Regions from separate parts of the Homo sapiens genome. Here region 1 is linked to region 2. The links are contacts of gene promoters, found by promoter capture Hi-C in human tissues and cell types (Jung and others, 2019). All regions are on one chromosome and are shown on one strand. Each heading gives the region's core, a stretch centred on a gene start or on the middle of the fragment in contact. The rest is flanking DNA. Distances are from core to core; before and after follow the strand shown. Region 1 holds the start of MTX2 (metaxin 2). Region 2 holds the start of HOXD1 (homeobox D1).

Region 1 (6,511 bases), core at 1,392-3,891, 81 kb after region 2:
TCCGAAAGTCAGGGCAGTATATTTCTGTTTATAAATTATCCAGACTAAGATATTTTGTTATAGCAGCCCTAATGGACTAAGGCACTTGCCATAATAAAGATGATTGGTGTCAGTCCCAAACCAGTACCTTCCAGCCAGCTCAGTTCATGCATGTATCATGCATCAAGCCATGGGTACTTAACTTAAATTTTAAGGGCACATTCTACTTTGCCTCTAATCTTGCTCTGTTTCTCTTGCATCTGTGTCCAGTCTCTGGCTCTTTCCAGTCTCTTCCACTTTGGGGCTCACTTCTACCCTTTGGATATGTTTGATTTTGGTTTCCCCAGTTGAATCTTCATTACTCTCTAGGGACTTTGGCTCAAGTTCTCACACAGGCCCTATGATATGGAGAAATCTTAAACTTCAAATCTGTCAAAAAGTAGTCAAAATATTGTGTCTTCAGCTTTATAAAAATGACAAACCAAAATTAATAATAGAACTTAAAGTGATGATATGTCTTCTTCATTATTACAGTTATACATAATTCTCCACTGTGAGGAGAACAGACAGGGCCTGAAAGCTTTTCTTTTGATTGATAACAAAGTATCTGGAACAGCTCATTTCTCTTGGTCAATAATACCTATGGGATGAGGAGGAAATTGGATCTCATGTATTCTTTACTATCAGTGTTACCTCTCTCTGCACAAACAAGAAAAACCTATTAATATTATCTTCCCTGTATTTCTACTATTCACAGCTGCTTGTCAACTCTGAATTTCAGCTATAGAGAAGACACTACTTCCTAAGACGCTGCTGTGTTTATGTCAATGTAAATTATTGGGTAAATTTAAATGCTGTTTAAGAAGCTTCCTTTTGCTGAGGGAGATGAAAATATGACTTAACCTTAAAAAAATTATGGGGCTGGGCACAGTGGCTCACGCCTGTAATTCCAGCACTTTGTGAAGCCAAGGCGGGCGGATCATGAGGTCAGGAGTTCGAGACCAGCCTGGCCAACATGGTGAAACCCGGTCTCTACTAAAAATACAAAAATTAGCCGGGCATGGTGGCACGCACCTGTAATCTCAGCTATTTGGGAGGCCAAGGCAGGAGAATCGCTTGAACCTGGAAGGTGGAGGTTGCAGTGGGCCGAGATCACGCCACTGCACTCCAGCCTAGGTGACAGAGCAAGACTCCATCTCAAAAAAAAAAAAAAAAAAAAAGAAAAGAAAAGAAAAGAAATCATGTTAAGATGAGGTCCTGCTGGATTAGGGTGGGGGTCCCTAACACAATGACTGGTGTTATTTCTCAAGAAGAGAGAAATTTGAACACATTGACACACAGGGGGAATGCCGTGTGATGTGGTGGCAGAGATTGGAGTGATGTATCTACAAGCCAAAGTACATGGAAGATTGCCGGCAACCCCCTTCTCTGGAGCCTTGCAAGACAGCATGGCCCTGCTGACACCTTGATTTCAGACTTCTAGCCTCCAGAATTGTGAGAATGAATTTCTGTTGTTTAGCCAACCAGTTTGTGGTAATCTGGCAGCTCTAGGAAACCAACCACGCTAGTTAAGGAGGCAGAATGAACAGTAATAGAGATCTACGGATATAAAGAATGGAAATATAGCTTTCTAAATGTCATGGACAGTAATTCTTAGAATACAGGTTTCCTCTGCAAAAACCTAGTAAGCTGTCTGACTTTTTGATTTACTGTGTGATTTAAAATGAGTTACCTCACCTCTCTGAACTTGTTTCTCATCAGTGAAGGGGGCTTTGGGTTACCAGCTCTGAAGCCTGTCCCACTTGTAATACCACCAATCTGTAATGCATATGATTTTTCTTTAATTGTGTAATTTAAGAAGCTATTAGGTTAAGACAAAGTTACTCAGGGAATTTAGTTTCTCCTCTTCCTGCCCCGTTCACCCCCGAAAGGTGAGAAGTGTGTGAAACTAAAGTATCTTATTCTCCAAGCTGAGCATCATTTCGGGTGTATGGAGTTGAAGGACAAATTACCTTCTGGCTTAGGCGCTGCTCAAGCCTCCTTTCTGCCAAGCATGTTTGAATAAACAACAACAACAAAAAACACTAATGTCTATCCACGGACTAATCAACCCAGCAATATAATGGAATAGAGGGAATTCATGCAGCCTTGAATCTGGTCCTTGGAGGACTGCCTGGGCAGGCAGTTTAAACTCCTTAAGCCTATATTCTTATCCGTAAAATGGCGATAATATTATTACTTTAATGGGTTGTTGAGAAGACGAAGTCAAATAGAATATATGTGTATATATATGTATATATGTGTATATATGTACATGTGTACATATATACGTGTATATATTATATATGTGTGTATGTGTGTGTGTATATATGTATATATGTGTGTGTAGATATAGGTATATAAGTGCCTGGTATCCAGTGGGCGTTTACAAATGTTACTCGGTTACAAAATTCTGGCTTACAGAAAGGACGCTAAAAATCTCCCAGATTCCCCTGCCAGTCCCCTGGGTGGGAGACGAGTCGGGTACTTCGCTTCCACCTGCGGGCCCCCAGCGCAGAGCCTGGAATTGGCTGGACGGAGCTAGCCGCGCCGGCGCCCCGTAGGACGGCGCGGGGGCGGGGCCGGCGGAAGCGCTCGAGTGCCGTTGTCGGCTGCGCCGGAAGTCCCTAGCCAGGCCTGGCGGTAACCTTGGGGGCCTCACTGCAGCCGCCGCTGCTGTTGGAGTGGGCTTTGCGAGTCTGAACGTTGGCGGGGCTAGGCTCGTTAACTGCCGAGAGCCTCCGGGTTTGCGGTGGAGGACGCTGAGGCCCGTGGGGGGCAGGCACCCGGGCGCCGGGCCTCCCAGCCGACATGTCTCTAGTGGCGGAAGCCTTCGTCTCCCAGATTGCAGGTAGCGCGGCTGGCCGCAGACCCAGAAGGTGGCGGCGCGGTCTCGGGGAGCCGCGTGGGGTACAGGGCTGGAGCTTTCCTCCAGCCTTGCGGCATTATACGCTGAACCCGGCCCGGATGGTGGAGGCGGGCACGGACTACCAACCTTATCTCACATATGGGAAAACTGAGAAGGAGACACTTGGCCAAGGTCACCCCGCAGGAGCAGGAGTCCCGTCTCCTTCCCTTGGGCGGTACTTTGTCCCACCTCCCCATTCAGTTGGGAGGTGCTGGAGTATGAGGGGGAGGCCTTGGATTGGGATTGAGGTGGGGGGCGTTACCACAGGGGCAAGCATCTGAACGCTTCAGTCTAAGAGTGGTGGCAGTTTCTGGGTCTTGGTACTCAAAAAGTTTAAGGTGACTGTCACTAATCAGTTGTTACCTATTGTTGAGGGAACACCAGACTTCTTGCTTCGTCTCCCAGCGACACAGTAGTGCCATTTGCTAAGACTCTAGGAGTTATTTATTTATTTATTTGTTGAGACGGAGTTTCTCTTTTGTCACCGAGGCTGGAGTGCAGTGGCACAACCTGGGCTCACTGCAACCTCCGCTTCCCGGGTTCAAGCGATTCTCCTGCCTTAGCCTCCCGAGTAGTTGGGATTACAGGCGCCCGCCACCACGCCCGCGCGGATTCATGGAAAATTTTTAAATCTGCATGTACTTTAAAGAAATACTTTTGAGTCGGTGGACTGAACATGACTGATGTATATAGGTTTGTAATTTCTCTTATTGAGGTTTTTATTTATTGTAATGAAAGAAATTAAATATTGTTGAGAAAGTGAGGAGACTAAACATAGGTACTTTGAGATAGAGGCTAATGGAATTAGTCATAACTCCCTAGCAGTGTTTTCAACATGAGTACAGTAATGAAGACAGTCACCACAATAAATAGGTACATTTGAAGTAATAAGATAGTATTTTGGAAATGGGAAGTACAGAATGTGTCATAAAATTTGCCGGAATGTTTTTCACTGCTTTGCGTTTGTGTGAACGTACATTTCTTTTTTTTCCTTCTTCACTTAAAAACATTATTTTTTAGAGGAGAGAAGCTCCTACTAGATTGCAAGCTTCCTGAAAGTAGGGATCAAACTTGTTTTGTTCCCCATTGTATCCATAGTCAGTTGGTGCTCAATAAATATTTGCGACCCAAATCAATGACTAATCTTGAGATTTCAAGCAATGATTATTTCTGCTTTTACCATTTATGTTGAAACAAAATCAGGCTTATATAGTTAGATCAGCGATTTAATTTAGTTTGCTACTATGTTGAAAAAAAAAACTTCACAGTGTATGTTGAGTGGTTCACTGTGTGCATGTGTCCTAATATGTGATTTCTTTTAATGAGAAAATGATGAATGTCTTTTAATAAACTTTGGATACTGCTTTAAGTAGTGACGTTTAAAAATTTCTAGGCATTTTGTCTGTCTGCCGTCTTAGCTATTTGTAGTGATCTGTTACTCTAGGAGGAAGCATTTAAAAATGGATAATTCAATAAATGGTGTTGGAACAACTACTAAGTCATTACACCACATGAATAAATTCCAGATTGATTAAAGATCTAAATATAAAACAACAAAATTGTAATAAAATAATTAGAGGAAAACATAGATTATTTTAATAATCCTTGGATAGCAGAAGAGGCCTAAGCAAAACTTAAGAATTCATAATCCATAAGAGAAGAAATTGGCAGATTTGATTGCCGAAAAAATTTTAAAACTTTGATAAAAGACATCTCAAGTTAGTACAAATAAGAAGACAAACCAACAGAATCAAGGACAAAGGATTGGAACAGGCATTTCACAAAAGGGTGAAATATAGATGGACAGTGAACAGATGAAAAGATGTTCTCTGTCCCTAATAATGTATAGCATCCTCCCACCCCTGCCATCAGATGGACAAAAGTGAATATGATTTCTAGTACTAATAGGGCATGGGGAAAAGTTACTCTCAAACTATTGGGTCTGTAAGTTAGTATTACTTTTTGGGAACGTAATGTAGCAATATTTATTAAAATGACATTCTCTGGCCTGAAAATTCTACTTATGGGGGTTTATCTGATAGAAATGTAAAGACCAGTACTTAAAGAAATACACAATGATATTAATTGCAGCATTATTTGTAATAGCGAAAAACTAGAAATGTTTTAAATATATGTCAAATTATTGTACACCAATCCACCAATTCCACTTCTGGGCATGTATCCAAAGGAATTGAAATTGTCTAAGAGGTATGTGCAGTCCCATGTTCATTGCAGCAGTATTCACAATAGCCAAGATATGGAAGCAACCCAGGTGTTTATCAGTGGATGAATGGATAAAGAAAATGTATATAAGATACAATGGAATACTATTCAGCCTTAAAAAAGAAGGAAACCCTATCATTTGTGATAAAATGGATGGATCTGGAGGACATTATGCTAAATGAAATAAGCTAGACATAGAAAGACAAGTAGTGATCTAAAATCTAATCTTTTTGGGGAAATCTAAGAAAGTTGATCTCCTAGAAACAGAATAGAAAGGTGGTTACCAGAGGCTGAGGGGGACAGAGGTGAGAGATGGGGAAGAGGAATGGAGAAGAGATGTTGATCAAAGGGAACAAAGTTTGTTAGACTAGAAGAAAAAGTTTTAGTGATCTATTGCACTGCAAGGTGACCACAGTTAATAATAATGTATTATATATTTCAAAATTGCTAAAGGCTTAGATTTATAATTTTCTTACAAAAATTTAAGTTGGTGCGGTGATGGATATATTAATTACCTTGATTTATTCTTTCTATTCTTTGATTTATTTAGTTCAAAATATCACGTTGTACCTCCTAAATGTACAGTTATTATTTGTCAAAAACATTTATACAAAAATTATGGTATGGTCACATTTTTACAGATCCAAAAATGAAGAAGTATATCTGTTAAATACGTTGTCTTGAAAGCTATGGTTATATTAAGTAAAAAGTTATAAAATAATATCTATTTTGTATGAACTCATGAAATCTATATAAACATACATATGTTTATATATGTTAAGAATATTCAACTAATTGTAACTAGCGATTGGGATAATAAAGATAGATTGTTGGTAGAGGGTGGAGGAACTATATTTCTGAATTGTTTGAATTACTATAGTGAGCATAGTTTACTTTTGTAATTTAAATGATTGTAATTGTTAAAATTTATAAGATTATGTTTTGCCAAGAAGTGAAAACAGGAGGCTGCCTTAATCTGTTTTGTGTTGCTATAACAGAATACCACAGACTAGGTAAGTTACAAAGAAAAAAAATTCAAGTCTCACATTTTGGGAGGCAACGAACTCCAGCTTCAAGGTGCCGGTATCTGATGCGAGCCTTTGTGCTGCATTATCCTGTGGCAGAAGGTGGAAAGGCCAGGGAGGGCAAGAGCCAGGGACTGAGAGGGCTGAACTTGCTTTTACAACAACCTACTCTTGGGATAAAGAGATGAATCCATTCATGAGGGTGGAGCCCTCATGATCTAGTCATCTCTTAACAATCCCACCTGTTAATACTGTCAGAATGGTAATTCCATTTCAGCATGAGTTGTGAAGGGGATATTCAGACTATAGCAGTGGTTAAAGTAATAATTTATCGGAA
Region 2 (6,036 bases), core at 2,476-4,975:
CTACATCAAACACAAGCTGGCAATTGGGCCCCTCTGCTGTCACCTCCCGTGGAGAACTCAGCACCAGGACCCAGCAGAGCAAGTGACCCTGGGGAATTCATGGCTTGACAAGTAATAAAATTAGTAAGACATTTCTCCCATACTTGGTGAACATCTAAGAGACAAACTTTAATGTTACTCAAAATATGCTATATTCACATCTTTCTATATTTCCCCAATAATATCTTCCAATTTCTCCTTAGATAATTATACATTAAGATTCCTCTAGAGTAGATTTATAGTATAGCTAAAACCTGTGTCAGAAATAAATCTCTAGCTCCTTTGGTTTAAGACTGTCTTTTCCCTAGCCTAACTTTCTCCTAACAAAATGTCATTACATAGTAAATCCTTGGCAAACATCTGTTGAATTTGAGTATGAGATGACCAGAGTCATGACTTCCAACCTGAGCAAGTCAAGAACCAGTCCAAGAATGGAGATGCTAACTCTGAGCCCCAAGGTGTGGGATATGCCAAGGATTTGGAGATTAAGGGAGTGGAGAGAAGGGTGAACAGAATGTAGCTTTCTTTTTGTTTGAGACGGAGTCTCGCTCTGTCACCCAGGCTGGAGTGCAGTGGCATGATCTTGGCTCACTGCAACCTCCACCTCCTGGGTTCAAGCGATTCTTCTGCCTCAGCCTCCCAAGTAGCTGGGACTACAGGCGTGTGCCACTAATTTATTTTTATTTTTATTTTTTTTAGTAGAGATGGGGTTTCACCGTGTTAGCCGGGCTGGTCTTGATCTCCTGACCTCGTGATCCACCCATCTCAGCCTCCCAATGTGCTGGGATTACAGGTGTGAGCAACCGTGCCCAGCCAGAATGTAGTTTTCTGTATGCGATTATCAAAGAAATGCTATTGGGTCTGAACAAATATTGAACACCTCTCCCTCGCTCTCACCCACAGTTGTGAAAACAAAACAAAACAAAACAGTATTTTTAAAAACTTCATTCTTTTTTAGGGCACTTTCTTCCCTCAGAAAGGCTAAATCTCCAAAATTTTACTTGATGGAGCTAGTGTGGATAGCTCATGGGTGCATTAAAGTCAAGGCCTAATTATATCATGAAGGACCCAGCCTTTGCCCCAAATGCCCAGGAGGAAAAACTTAGTCTTTGTTGCCATGAAAGCTGCCAGGACACCTAGGCAGCCTGATTTTTCTGAAACCTTAGAGAAAAGGCCCTTAATTTGAGGGGTTTTGGTCAGACTTGCCGGACAGTCAGGCTGACTCTTCTGCCCTAAACCCTGGGTTGCAGCCGGCTGGATGTCTTCCCCAAAGAGGTTTACAAAGTCATCCTTCCTTCTTGACCCATGGGGCCTCTAGGCTTTGGAGTTGTGATAGGATAAGTATCATTTGAGGGAACACTGTGAGAGCTGGGACATCTTGCAGATAAAAACTGGCTATTAAAATCTAGCCAGAGGTGGAGGAGGGGGCATTGTGAACTCAGCAGCATCTTATTTGCTGTTACTTTTGCATAAATGGCACAGGAGAGCAGTGAAGAAACGTGTCTACATTTTAAGGCTGAGCTAGCTCTGAAGAGCTCTAACATTTCCTAACTGGGGTGTTAGGGAAGAACTTTTATTTTTCTCTTCTTAAAAATTATTTAGGGCCGGGCGCGGTGGCTCACGCCTGTAATCCCAGCACTTTGGGAGGCCGAGGCGGGCGGATCACGAGGTCAGGAGATCGAAACCATCCTGGCTAACACGGTGAAACCCCGTCTCTACTAAAAATACAAAAAATTAGCCGGGCATAGTGGTGGGCGCCTGTAGTACCAGCTACTCGGGAGGCCGAGGCAGAAGAATGGCGTGAATCGGGGAGGCTGAGCTTGCAGTGAGCCGAGATCGCGCCACTGCACTTAAAAAAAAAAATTAAATAAATAAATAAATAAAAATTATTTAGGACCTTATCTGACTGGCTATAGCACAACTGAAATAGCAAAATCAAGATTGAAGGGCTATTTTCAGCACAGGTATTCCATTTCCAATCAAACTCAAGAACTCCAGCAGTGCAGGAACCACAGACCTCTTTAACTTTGTGCTGATTCCTAGGCATCCACCCTCTACTGGCTCCCCTCAACCTGGGGACATCCCTCCCCCATCCTGCAGCAACTTCGGGTCCATCAGTAGTCCACATTTTGGTAGGGCTTTGTTTATTCACAAGTCCACAACCCTGGAAGGAACTGGCTCCCTGGGCTGTGATGGCGCCTATTCTAAAGACTTCCTCAGAGTGGAAATTTAGGCAACAACAGCTCAATCGCTCTTTTATGACAAGTCAATCAGTAAAACAATGATAAAACCTCGGTTACCATAACTTAGAGGCTGTAATAGATTAACTTTTCAAGGGCACTTGATATAAGCTCTGAGTAGACTCTTTAGAGTCTTTATTCACACAGGGTTTTAGGAAACCACCCTCTTTCATAACTACTGTGTGTAAATAACCTCTATTTATCTAATTTGTAATTTTCCTACAGTCCCCTCAAAAGGGAACATTAAAAGAAATACTAAAGGAAGTTGGAAAGTTTGTCAATGTAAAGCTGGTCTTTGTAACCTTTCTACTCTTCATTTCCTGTGGCAATTGCACTTTTATTTCCCGTCTCTCTACACTCAGTAAACAAAACCATATTATCAAGGGAAAGACGTGAGCCCATTAACATTGTGAGCCCTCAGATTTCACTCACAAGAGACGATGCAGCACTTATCTGATGGAGCAGAAGCTCTAATTGCTTCGAGGTACAAGTCCATCTAAACCTCTGAGATCTCACCCGTCCCCGGTAAGCCCTTGCGCCCTCCAGACAAGCTCCTCAGTGAAAGCAAGCGCCGCACCGGTGCCTGTGCCAGTCTCCCAGAAAGGAGCATAAGGAGTGTTCCACCACCACTCTGGATTCTTTATTCCAACAACCCAGCCGGAGGGGAAAATCTGCTAAACCACCCCACAAGGCAGAAACTTTATCAAAATCTGGCACTACAACACTGGCCCTCATCACGCCGCCACAAATTGCGAGGGATAGAAGAAAGCTGCAAAGTCACGTTAAAAGGAAGCCTAGTCAAAAAGTGAAAATTTTGTCCCGCCCTAGGCACACAGCACTCACAGCATAAGATGTAGTTCCATGAGTCCTAGGAAAGGGGGAAGAAAGGAAAAAACCAAACATCTGCTCTAGGTTTAGAAGAGGGATAACATCAGCGCCAAGCAAACCGAAAGCGCAGAGGACTCAGAAGAGGGGAAGAGGAATAACTTTATCTGTCCTGGAGGTGGGCGAAGAGCAGTCTCCACCGGCCGCGCGTCACGCTCCCATTTAACCTTTTCCATGCCGCGACGCCCACACTCCGCCCTCGAGGGACTAGCCCCCCCCACGATCCAGAGCAGAAGCGGCTCGCCCCGCTGCATCCACGGGCCCTCACCCAAGCGTCCAGTCCTGCCTTTCTCCCCCCACCTCGCCCAATACCTGTCCGAGAGCAGGCGTTCTGCCCTCTCGCCCCGCCCTTGCCCAGGCAGCCCCCGGTCGCGACGGCTCTCCTCGGGGCTCGGGGGCGCTGGGCGGCGGCCCTGGGCTGCTTTGGCTAACTTGGCTGCGGGGCAGGCGCGAGGAGCGGCGCGCCGACCGGGCCGAGCGGAGAGGCCGCCCATTGGCCGGCCAGCGCCACGTGGCCGCCCCCGCCGGTATATTAGGCCACTATTTACCTCCGGCTCACTCGCCATGGGTTGGAGAGGGCAGCTCGGGTAGAGAGGGCTGGCGGAGCGGCGCAGACGGCGGCAGTCCTGCTCAGCCTCTGCCCGGCTCCGTACTCCGGCCCCGGCCTGCGCCCTCAGAAAGGTGGGGCCCGAACCATGAGCTCCTACCTGGAGTACGTGTCATGCAGCAGCAGCGGCGGGGTCGGCGGCGACGTGCTCAGCTTGGCACCCAAGTTCTGCCGCTCCGACGCCCGGCCCGTGGCTCTGCAGCCCGCCTTCCCTCTGGGCAACGGCGACGGCGCCTTCGTCAGCTGTCTGCCCCTGGCCGCCGCCCGACCCTCGCCTTCGCCCCCGGCCGCCCCCGCGCGGCCGTCCGTACCGCCTCCGGCCGCGCCCCAGTACGCGCAGTGCACCCTGGAGGGGGCCTACGAACCTGGTGCCGCACCTGCCGCGGCAGCTGGGGGCGCGGACTACGGCTTCCTGGGGTCCGGGCCGGCGTACGACTTCCCGGGCGTGCTGGGGCGGGCGGCCGACGACGGCGGGTCTCACGTCCACTACGCCACCTCGGCCGTCTTCTCGGGCGGCGGCTCTTTCCTCCTCAGCGGCCAGGTGGATTACGCGGCCTTCGGCGAACCCGGCCCTTTTCCGGCTTGTCTCAAAGCGTCAGCCGACGGCCACCCTGGTGCTTTCCAGACCGCATCCCCGGCCCCAGGCACCTACCCCAAGTCCGTCTCTCCCGCCTCCGGCCTCCCTGCCGCCTTCAGCACGTTCGAGTGGATGAAAGTGAAGAGGAATGCCTCTAAGAAAGGTAAGTCCGCGGGCCTTGGATGGGGCCACCTGGGGTTGGGGACGGAGCCTCCCCCGCGGAAATGCGCTGGGAGCGTGGTGTCGCTGCCTTTCCAGACAGCGGTTTGGGTTTTGTGGAGGAGACGCGTTCCCGGGCGAATTCCATGGAGTCTGCCTCGAGTACAGATTCGGAAAATGTGCCAGGCATTGAGAAAATTTCAGGAAGGAGCTCTCCGTGGAACTTCTCCTGGTACAAATTCTGTTCCTAGGGACCCAGGAGGGCTGCGCTGGGACTTTGATTCTAACTAGCTCCACTGCTCACCCACATTCTGTCCCCGGCCTCAGGCCTGGCTGACGCCCTGTCTTTACGTTGCAGGCAAACTCGCCGAGTATGGGGCCGCTAGCCCCTCCAGCGCGATCCGCACGAATTTCAGCACCAAGCAACTGACAGAACTGGAAAAAGAGTTTCATTTCAATAAGTACTTAACTCGAGCCCGGCGCATCGAGATAGCCAACTGCTTGCACCTGAATGACACGCAAGTCAAAATCTGGTTCCAGAACCGCAGGATGAAACAGAAGAAAAGGGAACGAGAAGGGCTTCTGGCCACGGCCATTCCTGTGGCTCCCCTCCAACTTCCCCTCTCTGGAACAACCCCCACTAAGTTTATCAAGAACCCCGGCAGCCCTTCTCAGTCCCAAGAGCCTTCGTGAGGCCGGTACTTGGGGCCGAAAAACTGTGGCCTGCAGAAGTCCCAGGCGACCCCCATCCCTATCTAGACTTAGGAGCTCAGTTTGGGATGGAGGTGGGAGAACAAAAATGAATAGGGATTTCACTTGGGAAATGAAGTACTTTAGTTGGCTTCCGAGTTCCAGACTATATGTCCAGATATTAATTGACTGTCTTGTAAGCCACTTGTTTGGTTATGATTTGTGTCTTATCAGGGAAAAGGTGCCCAGCTGCCAGCCCAGCTCCGCTGCTATCTTTGCCTCACTTAGTCATGTGCAATTCGCGTTGCAGAGTGGCAGACCATTAGTTGCTGAGTTCTGTCAGCACTCTGATGTGCTCAGAAGAGCACCTGCCCAAAGTTTTTCTGGTTTTAATTTAAAGGACAAGGCTACATATATTCAGCTTTTTGAGATGACCAAAGCTAGTTAGGGTCTCCTTGATGTAGCTAAGCTGCTTCAGTGATCTTCACATTTGCACTCCAGTTTTTTTTTCTTTAAAAAAGCGGTTTCTACCTCTCTATGTGCCTGAGTGATGATACAATCGCTGTTTAGTTACTAGATGAACAAATCCACAGAATGGGTAAAGAGTAGAATCTGAACTATATCTTGACAAATATTATTCAAACTTGAATGTAAATATATACAGTATGTATATTTTTTAAAAAGATTTGCTTGCAATGACCTTATAAGTGACATTTAATGTCATAGCATGTAAAGGGTTTTTTTTGTAATAAAAATTATAGAATCTGCTGCTCTCTGCTTTTCTTACACTCTTTAATAATGATTCTCTTTCTTTAAAGTTGATTCAGTTTCCTGTATTT

The links. The method cuts DNA at HindIII sites, captures the fragments that hold promoters and counts their contacts. A contact is called where the count stands out against the background at its distance.
Region 1: a contact is called between the fragment with the promoter of MTX2 here and the fragment with the promoter of HOXD1 in region 2, in 1 of the 25 tissues and cell types used here (adrenal gland).

The regions. Positions count from the first base shown.
Region 1 is chr2:176,266,801-176,273,311 of GRCh38, forward strand. MTX2 (metaxin 2) reads left to right here and starts at 2,642. Exons shown (of 10, transcript NM_006554.5): 1 at 2,642-2,869. The coding sequence starts at 2,830. RefSeq lists enhancers at 2,283-2,910, 2,911-3,536 and a silencer at 2,489-2,578. The HindIII fragment of the contact is 8,349 bases long and covers 1-5,473 here.
Region 2 is chr2:176,184,943-176,190,978 of GRCh38, forward strand. HOXD1 (homeobox D1) reads left to right here and starts at 3,726. Exons shown (of 2, transcript NM_024501.3): 1 at 3,726-4,511; 2 at 4,866-5,965. The coding sequence starts at 3,860. The coding sequence ends at 5,200. It overlaps HAGLR (HOXD antisense growth-associated long non-coding RNA), which reads right to left and starts at 4,016. Exons shown (of 3, transcript NR_033979.2): 1 at 3,872-4,016. MIR7704 (microRNA 7704) reads left to right here and starts at 3,901; the gene lies at 3,901-3,959. The HindIII fragment of the contact is 12,505 bases long and covers 1-6,036 here.